2 separate regions of the Homo sapiens genome follow, and region 2 is linked to region 1. The links are contacts of gene promoters, found by promoter capture Hi-C in human tissues and cell types (Jung and others, 2019). All regions are on one chromosome and are shown on one strand. Each heading gives the region's core, a stretch centred on a gene start or on the middle of the fragment in contact. The rest is flanking DNA. Distances are from core to core; before and after follow the strand shown. Region 1 holds the start of YY1 (YY1 transcription factor). Region 2 holds the start of HSP90AA1 (heat shock protein 90 alpha family class A member 1).

The links. The method cuts DNA at HindIII sites, captures the fragments that hold promoters and counts their contacts. A contact is called where the count stands out against the background at its distance.
Region 2: a fragment that was not itself captured here is called in contact with the fragment with the promoter of YY1 in region 1 in 1 of the 25 tissues and cell types used here (hippocampus).

The regions. Positions count from the first base shown.
Region 1 is chr14:100,236,340-100,242,701 of GRCh38, reverse strand. YY1 (YY1 transcription factor) reads right to left here and starts at 3,558. Exons shown (of 5, transcript NM_003403.5): 1 at 2,779-3,558. The coding sequence starts at 3,457. It overlaps YY1-DT (YY1 divergent transcript), which reads left to right and starts at 4,081. Exons shown (of 2, transcript NR_189150.1): 1 at 4,081-4,231. RefSeq lists silencers at 1,957-2,636, 2,907-2,956, 3,447-3,516, 3,667-3,746, 3,807-4,406 and enhancers at 2,647-2,806, 3,644-4,496. The HindIII fragment of the contact is 4,615 bases long and covers 1,669-6,283 here.
Region 2 is chr14:102,083,533-102,089,894 of GRCh38, reverse strand. It overlaps HSP90AA1 (heat shock protein 90 alpha family class A member 1), which reads left to right and starts at 2,851. Exons shown (of 11, transcript NM_005348.4): 1 at 2,851-2,909; 2 at 3,517-3,678; 3 at 3,771-4,137; 4 at 4,464-4,597; 5 at 4,897-5,214; 6 at 5,331-5,496; 7 at 5,912-6,102; 8 at 6,202-6,349. The coding sequence starts at 3,517. RefSeq lists silencers at 2,294-2,343, 2,404-2,933, 2,974-3,263 and an enhancer at 4,976-6,175. The HindIII fragment of the contact is 5,167 bases long and covers 1,409-6,362 here.

The DNA of each region.
Region 1 (6,362 bases), core at 2,309-4,808:
AAAAGCAGCCACTTGGCTGGGCGCGGTGGCTCACACCTGTAATCCCAGCACTTTGGGAGGCCGAGGCAGGCGGATCACGAGGTTAGGAGATCAAGACCATCCTGGCTAACATGGTGAAACCCTGTCTCTACTAAAAACACAAAAAATTAGCCGGGCGTGGTGGTGGGCGCCTGTAGTCCCAGCTACTCGGGAGGGTGAGGCAGGAGAATGGCGTAAACTCGGGAGGCGGAGCTTGCCGTGAGCCGAGATCATGCCACTGCACACCAGCCTGGGCGACAGAGCGAGACTCCATCTCAAAAAAAAAAAAAAAAAAAAAAAAAAAACAAAAAACAAAACAAAACAGCCACTTGCACACTTGTAAATGCTCACTTAATTGTAAATTGACTTCCATCAGTCAAGCCCCTCAGACTTTCTCCCCTAACTGGCTGACTCCATACATACCACTTCAGCAAGCAAAGCCGTACACTACCAGCTTCTCTGGATGTGGAAAAGTGGACCAGCAATTTGTTAAGATAAAATGCAGATCATGTAAAAATATGTCGGTTTTCTAAATTCCTCTAATTCCACACACTATGAGAAAAAGTAAATTTACTTTTGTGGTTAATGTATCTTTACCTAAATATCTTATTTCAAATCGTATTCTGAATTCTGCAAATTCATCAATAACTAAAACCCCCATCCCTTACTCATTGGTATTAACAAAAAAAAATGCCCCCCCCCCCCTTTTGAGACAGAGTCTCGCTCTGTCACCCAGGCTGGAGTGTAGTGGTGCAATCTCGGCTCACTGTTAACCTCTGCCTCCTGGGTTCAAGCGATTCTCCTGCCTCAGCCTCCCGAGTAGCTGGGATTACGGGCTCCCGCCATCACGCCTGGCTAATTTTTATATTTTTAGTAGAGATGGGGTTTCACTATGATGGCCAGCTGGTCTCGAACTCCAGACTTCAAGTGATCCACCGGCCTCAGCCTCCCAAACTGCTGGGATTACAGGCGTGAGCCACCGCGCCCGGCCAAAACCATGACTTTTAGTTCCAACATGATCAGTATGTAATCTCTTGAGCTACCAAAATACATGGAAATTATCTTTTGATAACCATTAAGTACTAAAGTATTCATGTTTCATTTAAACATAGTTTCTGCTAAACTCAAACTGCTATGAATTCTACAAGGCACCCTGGATGCAGGACAGCGCCTGTTAGCACCTTCCTATTAGATTTTGACAGCTCCTAGATCCCTTTGCTCAGGCCTCTTTCAATCACAGATCCACCCAGCTGTAGTTGTCTCATCTTGAGGCTTTCACCAGATACAAACTAGCTTTTTCAGTCCAGCCTTTTCATTTCTGTTTCATTCATTCCTCCGAATTTTAACGATCTTTTAATACTCAAAGGTCACCATATTTTGAGTCTCCATTCAGTTCTGAGAATTTATGAAGCTTTAAAGTACTTATAGGGAAGAGGTTCCACCGCTTATATGGAGTACTAAACGTAATCATCACAGGCATTAGATTAACTACGATGGCAGGATTATTCTCAGTCTATTTAGTATCTCAGCAATTTAGCTAGGTAGCATATGAATATACTAATAGGATACTGACCTAAAAAACCAGCATTGAATTAATAATTGCCTTTGAAGTAAAAACAGATTTTACACAGGCAGATAAGATCCTTTTGCTCTAGATGGTTTTCAGGCCTTCGTTAAAAGTAGTATTAAAACAGTAAAACAAAACTCAAAAAAACCCGCTTTCTATTATCGTTCTTTTCATGGGGAAAATAGATACCTTTCTACAAAGTAAAAACCATAAAGGCTTAAAATTAAACTACCCGATTTTATTTACTGGCAAATGTCCACAGTTGAGTAAACTAACCCAACCTATTCAGAAGAGCTAAATACTTGAGGGAAAAAAAAAAAGCTTTCCCAAAACGTAAGTGACTAAGAATTATTCGCTAACATTCACAGGCCCTTTCCACTAGGTACCGCAGGAAGGCGAAAAGGCCAGGAATTCGCTGGCAACGGCGGTGACAGGCTCCGACTGACGCTCGGAGCCCGCACACGCGAGCCCTACGTGCAGCCCCAAGTCCCGCCCCGCAGCAAACGACGACTTGGGCGAGCGTGACCGCCGGGGCAGGGTCCAGCCCGGCGCTGGGTGGGCGGGGAGCAAGGAGGCCGGAGGGCGCCCACGAGTGCCAAGCCCCCTCCTTCTGGAAGGTGCCACCGGGGAGCAGTTGGGAGTCCGGGGAAGTTGGGGGCGGGCGGGGCAAGCGCCCGCGGCGCCCTCCAGCGGCCGATGGGGTAACGGCAGCGCCGGGCGGGGGCGGGGGCGCGCGTCCCGGAGGCAGCAATCCCTGGCCCGCGAGGCCGCGGCGCAGCCCCGCCAACGACCTCCCGCGTCCCGCCCGGGCCGGGGGCGCGCAGCTGCCGCCACAACGGGCCGGCGGGCGCGCCCGTTGATGCGGGCGCGGGGAGCGAGGGCGTCGGGGAGCGAGCGCGCCGGCCCCTCCCCCGGCCGTCTCCGCCCCGCGCGGCGCTTCCCCCTCTCGGAGAAACTACGCCATTGCGGCCTAGCCGGGCGGCGCCGGCCCCTCCCCCCCGCGGCCTGCCGCCATCTTCGCGGCCCGCCGCCCGCCGCCGCCGCCGCGCCCCCGCCGCCGCACGGCCCGCCATCTTTTGGGGCCGCCATACTTGCCCTGGCGAAGAAGATGGCGGCGCCCATCACACACATAAAACATGGCTTCCCTTCAAAACAAAAACATCCCGGGGCCGGGGCGCGCGGCCGGCGCTCACCTGAGGACCACATGGTGACCGAGAACTCGCCCTCCAGGGTCTTGATCTGCACCTGCTTCTGCTCCCACTTCTTGTTGCCCGGGTCGGCGCCGCCGCCGCCCGCCGCGCCGGCCCCGCCGCTGAGGTAACTCTTCTTGCCGCTCTTCTTGCCGCCGCCCTTCTTGACGCGGCCGCCTCCCGACGACGACGAGCCGCCGCCGCCGCTCTTGCCGGCCGCCGCCACGGTGACCAGCGTTTGTTCAATGTAGTCGTCGTCGCCGCCGGCCGGCGCGGGCACCGGGATGAGAATCTGATCCTCGAAGCCGTCCTCGGCGCGCAGCCCGTCCGAGTCGTCGCCGCCCACCACCTCCTCGCGCGTCTGCACCAGGATCACCTCCTGGTGGTGGTGCACCTGGGTCGGGTCGTCGGTGACCAGCGGCTGCAGAGCGATCATGGGCGGGTGGTGGTGGTGGTGATGGTGGTGGTGGTGGTGGCCGGCGTGCCCGTGGCCGCCCCCGCCGCCGTGGTCGCCACCGCCGCCGTCCTCGTCGTCGTCGTCCTCCTCCTCCTCCTCGCCCACCACTGTGGTCTCGATGGTCTCCACCGGGATGGTCTCCACCTCGATCTCGTGCAGCTCCACGATCTCGGCCGGCATCTCCGAGCCGTCCGTGGCGATGTAGAGGGTGTCGCCCGAGGCCATGGCTGAGGGCTCCGCCGCCACGGCCGCGGCGGCCTCGGCTCCTCGGCTGCGGGCGGGCGGGCGAGGAGGCGGCCGGCCGTGGGGAAGGAAGGCAGAGGGAGGAAGGCGGCGAGCGGGCGGGGGGAGAGGGGGCGGGCGGCGGGGGAAGGGGCGGGCGCCGCGGCGGCGGCGGGGCTTCCCCGCCTCCCTCGCCTCGGTGCGCCCGCGCCCGCGCTCGCTCGGCCGCTGCTCGTCTCGGCTCCCCGCCTCGCCTCGCCTCGCCGCAACCGCCCGCCCTGGCCGCGCCTCCTCCCGCCCTCCGGGCCGGCGCTCCGCTTCCCCCTTCCTCCTGCGCCTCCGCCTCCTTCCACACAAATACCAACTCCTCAACCCGAGCCCAGATCTCGCCGCCGCCGCCACACTCTGCTCGGGCCCGGCCTCGCGAGACTTCCGCGCTGGCCTCAGCCCGCCCCGCCTCGCTGCCACTCGCCCGTTCGCCCTCTCGATTCTCCTCTCGGCCAATCGATCTGTCCGCTGGCCTCCGCGGCCCCGCCCACTCGCCGGGCTCCTCCCGGATTGGGGCCGATGGGACCGGGGGCGGGGCGGCTCGCACGCGCCCTGGCTGGCCCGCGGCGCGTGACGTCAGCGCGCCGCCGCCGCCGCCACCGCCTCCCGCTTCCCGGTGTCGCGCGGCTGCCGCCCTTCGCGGTGCAACAGCCACAAAACCCGCCGCCTCGGGCCGGGGCCGCACTCGGGAACGGGGCGTCGCCGCTACAGCCGCTGCCTTGGGAGCCGGTGAGCGGTCCGCGCGGCCCCGGGCACCACGGGGGCGGGAGCCTGAGGAGAAGGGAGGGAGGGGCCGGCCGGGAGCGGGGTTGAGGCGGGTGGGCGGCCCGGGGGCCGCGCGGGGAGCGGCTGGCGCGTGCGGGGCGGCCCTGTCGCCCCAATAAAGTCTGCTTTGACGAGAATCGCCTGTGCTTCCTTTTTCGCGTCGGGAGGTGTTTGTTCTTGTCGCCTGGCTTCGGGCGAGCGATGGCCGCGGGGTGAGTGTGGAGGACCGAACGGACAAAATCGGGCGACGCGGGCAGCGTCCGGTATCTCGCCGCGAGCGCCCGGCGGGGTGCGGGGCCGAGCGCGGGGTCGGCGCGAGCTCGGCGGAAGCGCCCGCGGAGCCCCAGGGCCACCGTTGGGAGGATGTCCGTTATTCTTTAGTGACCCGCGGAAACCTGAGACGCAGCCGTTGGGTGCCTGTTTCCCCGTAGATCTTAGAACTACAGGGTCCTGGCGGCTTTCTAAAATTTTCTCCTGAGCTTCCCCTTCTTTGCTCTCCAGTCAGCCATTGTTTCCCTTGCCCACCCTTTCCCCCTATTTGTCACTTTCATAGGTGCTCCTTTTTACGCCCACCAGGTTTTGCATTTGTCTCATTTAAAATTCCAAATTTTTTCAGCCGTGTCCTCCATTGTACCTGCAACAGAGCCTAGATTTTTTTTTGTGGCACGGATTAGCGGCAAGTTAAACCTTCCTGAATGAGTTACATTGCAGCGAAGTGTTTCTGCTCTTATCTGTCCTTTTGGTCGACCTGACAATTTGCCTTAAAGCAAAACAAAGATTTCCTGATTTTTAAGGAAACTATGACAAATTGAAGAGTTGGAAAGGTGTGTCTTTGTTGTACTCGTTTGGCCGATTTAACGCCTCTGTGAATTTGTTCAACTTAAATATTATCAACATTTACTGTTTTGTAATAGTGTTCATGCAGTTGAGGCCCATGATTTTCTGAACTGTACGCAATACATTAATCTTAGGCTCAACTTGTTAAAACAAGTAGACTATACATTCTCATTAAAAGGCAACTTTATAAATCCTAGTCCCTTCTTATTGCTAAATCGCATTGGACTTGACTTTTGAGAATATTAGTGTAAGGAGTGACAAATTAGATCGTTTTCTCTTTGAATCTGAGCTTTGAAACCTGAATAATTCCCCTTGGAGTACTGCACCCACTCAGTTTGGAAAAGTCAAATCTGTTGAATTAAGTCATCTCTGGCTTTATAGCTTATAAACTCTGCATAAATATTTCATGAATGGAAACCAGTTGTGGGAGAACTTTTACATGTCTTAATGCTTTTTAAATTTCACTTTCCCCACTCTCTAGTAATTGATGGGGAAATGGCACTGCAAGTAGTTGATACTTCCCCATAAACACCAATTGTGAGAGCAAGAGAAATGAGGGAATTACCCATTAAGCATCCTGGTTTCTGAGCTGTAGATCTGTAGGTGTTCACATTCAAGTGGAGAAAGCCCAAAAGGATTGAAAGCTTTGAGGAAAGGTAGTAGGTCAGAAAGCACTAAAATGCTCCTGAAGGCCATCCTAGTACCTGCTCCAGAAAATAGCTTTTTAAACTTGCCCCATAGGAGGTGACCTGTTAGGCCTTAAGTTTTTCTAGTGGGAGATATTCTTGTTTTCTACTGTTTAACGGTGGAGTATCTTATGACTAGACATGCAAAGATAATGTGTCGTGTGGCTCTCGCTTGCTTGCACTTGCTAAAGGTAAAAATTATTTTAAAAGGACAGGTCAAATTGCAGTTTCAGAATCATGGGATTCTAAAAGTGAGGATAGGCTGGGCGTGGTGGCTCACACCCATAATCCCAGCACTTTGGGAGGCTGAGGTAGGTGGATCACCTGAGGTCAGGAGTTCCAGACTAGCCTGGCCAACATGGTGAAACCCCGTCTCTACTGAAAATACAAAAATAAGCTGGGCGTGGTGGTGCACGCCTGTAGACCCAGCTACTTAGGAGACTGAGGCAGGTGAGTTAATGGAAACCAGGAGGCGGAGGTTGCAACGAGCCGAGATCGCGCCACTGCACTCCAGGCTGGGTGACAGAGTGACACTCTGTCTCTAAAAAATAGTAATAAAAGTGAGGATAAAT
Region 2 (6,362 bases), core at 2,743-5,242, 1.8 Mb before region 1:
AGGCCTTCCAGGTGAGCTGACGGTTGTGTGGAAGCGGGGGATGAAGGTGGAGGGAAGTGGCTGGGTTCAAGAGGTACTTAGGAGGCAGAAGTGGCAGGACTCAGTGCCAGATCCGTTGTGGGGATGCTTGGGGTTCTTTAAGGTGGGATAGTCAGTGACCTGGCTAACGAGCCCTCAAAGAGGGCTGGAGACAGGGGGGAAGCTCATGAGGCTCAGCATCCAGGTCTGGAGCTGAGTCCTGGCCGGGCTCTTCCGTGAGTCATCTGCACACAAGTTCTATTAGTGAGAGTGCTGGACAAGATTTCCTGGGGGCAAAGACCCACCTCCAAGAGCTCCGTGATGTGCCAGGGAGAGGGGCATGAGTCTGAGAAGAGAGAAGGAACAGCCAGGGGCTGGCGTGTTGATGGTAGAAACCATTACAGAGTTCGCACCTGGTGGGTAACTGTGGAATGTCACCTGGAGACAGGACAAAAATGTCCTGTTTATTAACCGAGGGGGGAGAGCTGGAAAGACAAGAAGTTGTGGAAGGAAGAAGGGACATTAAAGATGGGGCCTGACGGGAAACAGTGGTTCCCAGTGATGCCCAGACCCAGGGAGGGGCTTTGGAGCAGGTTCACTGGAGAAATGGGGGTAAATGAAGGTCCCCAAAACAAAGGACAAAGAATGTCAGAGCTGGCCGGGCGCCGTGGCTCACGCCTGTAATCCCAGCACTTTGGGAGGCCGAGGCGGGCGGATCACCTGAGGTCACGGGTTCGAGACCAGCCTGGCCAACATGGTGAAACCCCGTCTCTACTAAAAATACAAAAATTAGCCGGGCGTAGTGGTGGGTGCCTGTAATCCCAGCTACTCGGGAGGCTAAGGCAGGAGAATCGCTTGAACCCAGGAGGTAGAGGTTGCAGTGAGCAGGTTGCAGTGAGCAGAGATTGTGCCATTGCCCTCGAGCCTGGGGGACCAAGAGTGAGACTTTGTCTAAAAAAAAAAAAAAAAGAAAAGAAAAAAAAGAACGTCAGAGTTAGGGCCCTGGATGGCTCCTCTATATCTCAAACCCCCTGGGCAATGGCAGAAACTGCGGTAGGAAAAGTTCCTACAAGTGAGGAGAGCGGGGACAGTGGCTGGTGGTGACAGGAAGGAAACAGGCAAAGGCGGCAGTCGCCAGGGAAGACCTTGCGCCCCTTCAGCGACCCGCTCACCGCTCTTCCTGCTTCCGGATTCCTCCCCGCCAGTCCAGGCTGCAGCTGTAGGAAAGCCTGGGCCGGGGGCGCGCCCCCAGGCTGCGCAACAGCTACCACAGGACCAGGCACACACCCGGTCACCACCGCTGGGGCCCGCGCCACGTGGCTGCTAGTTTCCTTCCACTTCCCCCGCTTTGTAATGCCAGGCAAGACGCTTTATGTTGATTTCACACGCTCTTAAGGGGGTCCCAGGCCGCAGTCTGAAAACCCCTGCTCCTGAGCAAGTTGCGTTTCCCTAAAGACCAGGAAGCGGAGGTAGTTCCATCGTTTCTTTACACGGCAAGGAGCTTTCAGATTATTCCGAGGGCCTGGCTATGAGTCTAGGCAGGAGGCGGCCCAATCATGGGAGGCGCCAGAGACAAAGAGGAAGAGGACATGGACTAGGCAGGGAAGCCAGGTCGAAGGAACCCCAATGCCTCCAAGGTTCCCACAGCTGGCCTTGGCCAAAATATCCGAAAATTCCCATGTAGAAACTGGCTTTTCCAGCCTGGGCAACATGGTGAAACCCCGACTCTACAAATAAATACAAAAACTAGACAGGTGTGGTGTCCGCGCCTGTGGTCCTCTGCCCACGCTCGTCCCAGCTACTGGGAAAGCTGAGGCGGGAGGATCACCTGAGCCCGGGAGGGTCGAGGCTGCAGTGAGCCGAGATTCCGCCGCGGCACCCCAGCCTGGGCGACAAAGCGAGAGCCTGTCCAAAAAAAAAAAAAAGAAAAAAAAAAAAAAAAAAACCTTTTAGGGCAAGTTAATCACCAAAGTGTTAGATACTTAATTTGGAGACCGCAAATCGGTCGGCAAAACGATGGGCTTTTCAAAATCATGCCGGGTGTAGCTGGGTAAGCATGAATTTGTTCACCAAGTCCCCGATTCCCAAGCTAAGGGACCCTTAAGTATGAAGCACATGGCTTTCGGGGAACCCAAAAGTAGGGAGCGCTCCCGAGCCAGCGGTGGGTCTGGAGAATCCCCGAGCGCGCAGGCCGCGGGACAGCCTCCCCAGTGCGCAGCAGCCTGAGGCTAACAGCCCCCAGAGGGCAGAGCCCCGCGATCCCGGCGCCGCTTGCGGCTGGATTCTTTGGCAGCGGGCGCGGCGCCAGTCAGGACGACGGCTCCGGAAGTCTCCCGGGCGCGTGAGACCCGGGCCGCTCTCCGTCCACGCACGACCCTCCCTCCAGGCGCGCCTCCCACCCCGGCCCCGCGTTCCGCTCAGCCCGGGTGACCAACTACACCTCACTTCAAAGGCCCCCACGCCCGGGCGTGCCCTCCGCCCGCCCGCGGCAGGTGGGGGTGCAGGGCGGAGGGCGCGGGCGGCCCCAGAAGGCGCCCGGACCTTCCCGAGAATTCCGGGCCGCGCAGGCGCATTGAGGCCGGCGCGGGGGCGTGCGAGAGGCGCGCGGCGGCGATTGAGGGAAGGTTGCCCGGGCCGGGCCACGAGCAGGGCCTGCGCGCGCCCGCAGGAAGGCGCGGGGGCGGGGTGCCGCGGCAACGGCGCATGCGTAGGCGCGCGGCCGCGGCGGCGGCTGGGGAGGGTTCTTCCGGAAGGTTCGGGAGGCTTCTGGAAAAAGCGCCGCGCGCTGGGCGGGCCCGTCGCTATATAAGGCAGGCGCGGGGGTGGCGCGTCAGTTGCTTCAGCGTCCCGGTGTGGCTGTGCCGTTGGTCCTGTGCGGTCACTTAGCCAAGGTGACGGGTGGTTGTGGGGGCCTGTGGAGGTGGACTGGGGACCGGGACTGGGGGCGGCTGGCGCGGGGCGGAGGCTGTGGGGGCCGGACCAGATCCCTGAAGCAGCCAGGGCCGCGCTCCCGGGCGGCCGCGCTTTCTATTCCGGAGGCCTCGGGACCGCTGCGGTTTCCGCACCCCGCTTCAGGAATGGGCCGGGCGGCCGCGGGCTCCCCGAGGCTCTGCAGCAGCGCCAGAGCTGGCGCCGCACGCGAACAGAGCGGCCCCGCCGCGGGGGTCCCCCGCCCGGCCCCGCTGGGGGCGCAGGCGGAGGAGGCCGCCGTGGCGGAGCCGCAGCCCGCGCGGGAGGGCACCCGGGGTGTTCGTTGGGGACCGCGGCGGGGGACTGGGCCCGGGCCTGCGGCGGCCTCCCGGAAGCGCGCACACGCTCGTGGTAGTTGCCGCGCTCCGAAATGAGGTCATCCTTTGTCAGCCGCCCTTCTATTTTCGGTTTACTTAAACTTCGCAAATCTCCAATTCGGCTTTAAAAATATTTGGAGAACGCGATGGAATTTCGTGTTGCCTCTGTAGACGTCCTGCAAGGTTTTAAACCGGCGCGGTGTCGTTCCAGATGCCTGAGGAAACCCAGACCCAAGACCAACCGATGGAGGAGGAGGAGGTTGAGACGTTCGCCTTTCAGGCAGAAATTGCCCAGTTGATGTCATTGATCATCAATACTTTCTACTCGAACAAAGAGATCTTTCTGAGAGAGCTCATTTCAAATTCATCAGATGTAAGTCACTTATTAACCCAGAATCGGATTTTGGTTTCAGTGTGAACTTCTTGGGGGTGCTGTATGCTTAAATTAATATTTTTTGTTAACAGGCATTGGACAAAATCCGGTATGAAAGCTTGACAGATCCCAGTAAATTAGACTCTGGGAAAGAGCTGCATATTAACCTTATACCGAACAAACAAGATCGAACTCTCACTATTGTGGATACTGGAATTGGAATGACCAAGGCTGACTTGATCAATAACCTTGGTACTATCGCCAAGTCTGGGACCAAAGCGTTCATGGAAGCTTTGCAGGCTGGTGCAGATATCTCTATGATTGGCCAGTTCGGTGTTGGTTTTTATTCTGCTTATTTGGTTGCTGAGAAAGTAACTGTGATCACCAAACATAACGATGATGAGCAGTACGCTTGGGAGTCCTCAGCAGGGGGATCATTCACAGTGAGGACAGACACAGGTAGGCACCTGAACATTCACTGGTTAAGTGAGCGGTGGAAGGGTGGGGTGCTGCAACCCTTGGACCCCTGGGGATGCGGTGAAGCTTACAGAATTTGTGTTTGCCCAACGATCAGGAACAAGCTAGAGCACTTAATTAGTGTAATGGCATGACTTGGTGGGCGGTTCTTTTGGGCGAGGCACCTTGCCCAAAAGGTTCTGCTGTGGTGGCCTTTGCATCTGTAGTAACGGCAAACCTTGCTTTATAGACACGTTATAAGGGTGTTAGGCATGGCGTTGAGCACTAAATTGAATGTATTAAGTCAATTTTTCTTTCTTCTCTTGCAGGTGAACCTATGGGTCGTGGAACAAAAGTTATCCTACACCTGAAAGAAGACCAAACTGAGTACTTGGAGGAACGAAGAATAAAGGAGATTGTGAAGAAACATTCTCAGTTTATTGGATATCCCATTACTCTTTTTGTAAGTTTTTATGTAATTGCAGAGTGAATTTCTGTCTGTAGGTGATTGGGGTGACTGTACTACATCCTTAGTCCCTAGATCTGTTCAACTAGTCTGAAGCCTGGGGAACCTAAGCTCTACTACCTAACTCTGTAAAAGTTCCTCGGGCTATTAAGTGGATGTATCAAATATTGATGAAAAGCTGGGTGCTTCTCAAGTTGGCTAATTTAGACTTGGGCCTTAGGTTGAAAATAGTGGTGCAGCGCTGTCGCTTAGTTCTGGAGTGCAGCAGTGATGTGATTTCGTGTTTTCTTTTGAAGGTGGAGAAGGAACGTGATAAAGAAGTAAGCGATGATGAGGCTGAAGAAAAGGAAGACAAAGAAGAAGAAAAAGAAAAAGAAGAGAAAGAGTCGGAAGACAAACCTGAAATTGAAGATGTTGGTTCTGATGAGGAAGAAGAAAAGAAGGATGGTGACAAGAAGAAGAAGAAGAAGATTAAGGAAAAGTACATCGATCAAGAAGAGCTCAACAAAACAAAGCCCATCTGGACCAGAAATCCCGACGATATTACTAATGAGGAGTACGGAGAATTCTATAAGAGCTTGACCAATGACTGGGAAGATCACTTGGCAGTGAAGGTGAGTGACTGATGGGTGCTTCAAGCTTGTCCTTAGATTATCATCTTTCTCCACCACCCCAAATATCTTCTATAATGCATTGTTCATTGGTACTTAGTGTATCTGTTTTATTACAGCATTTTTCAGTTGAAGGACAGTTGGAATTCAGAGCCCTTCTATTTGTCCCACGACGTGCTCCTTTTGATCTGTTTGAAAACAGAAAGAAAAAGAACAACATCAAATTGTATGTACGCAGAGTTTTCATCATGGATAACTGTGAGGAGCTAATCCCTGAATATCTGAGTAAGTATAGATAGGAAAAATAATCACTGTCACTGATTAAAGAAGTACTTTCTGGGTGGGCATGGTGGCTCACACCTATAATCCTAGCACTTTGGGAGGCCGGGGTGGGCAGATCACTTGAGGTCAGGAGTTCAAGACCAGCCTGGGCAACATGGTGAAACCCCATCTCTACTAAATTACAAAAATTAGCCCCATGTAGTGGCAGGCTGAGGCATGAAAACAGCTTGAACCCCCCCGGGAGGCAGAGGTTGCAGTGAGTGGAGATTGCGCCACTGCCCTCCAGCCTGGGCAACAGAGTGAGACTGTCTCAAAAATACGTCCCATCATCTTCAGGTTATCTTTGATTTTGGGAGTTTACATAGTACCAGTTTTGTCCTTGGAATGACTCAGTGCATTTGGTTTATATTTTTTTCAGACTTCATTAGAGGGGTGGTAGACTCGGAGGATCTCCCTCTAAACATATCCCGTGAGATGTTGCAACAAAGCAAAATTTTGAAAGTTATCAGGAAGAATTTGGTCAAAAAATGCTTAGAACTCTTTACTGAACTGGCGGAAGATAAAGAGAACTACAAGAAATTCTATGAGCAGTTCTCTAAAAACATAAAGGTTGGTGTAAATAACCATTAGTTTTCCAATTGGCCTCTTTAGTTTTTTTTTTTTTTTTTTAATTCAGAAAGTCTTTGTAAAGAACATACTTTGTTTCAGCTTGGAATACACGAAGACTCTCAAAATCGGAAGAAGCTTTCAGAGCTGTTAAGGTACTACACATCTGCCTCTGGTGATGAGATGGTTTCTCTCAAGGACTACTGCACCAGAATGAAGGAGAACCAGAAACATATCTATTATATCACAGGTAAGAGAACACT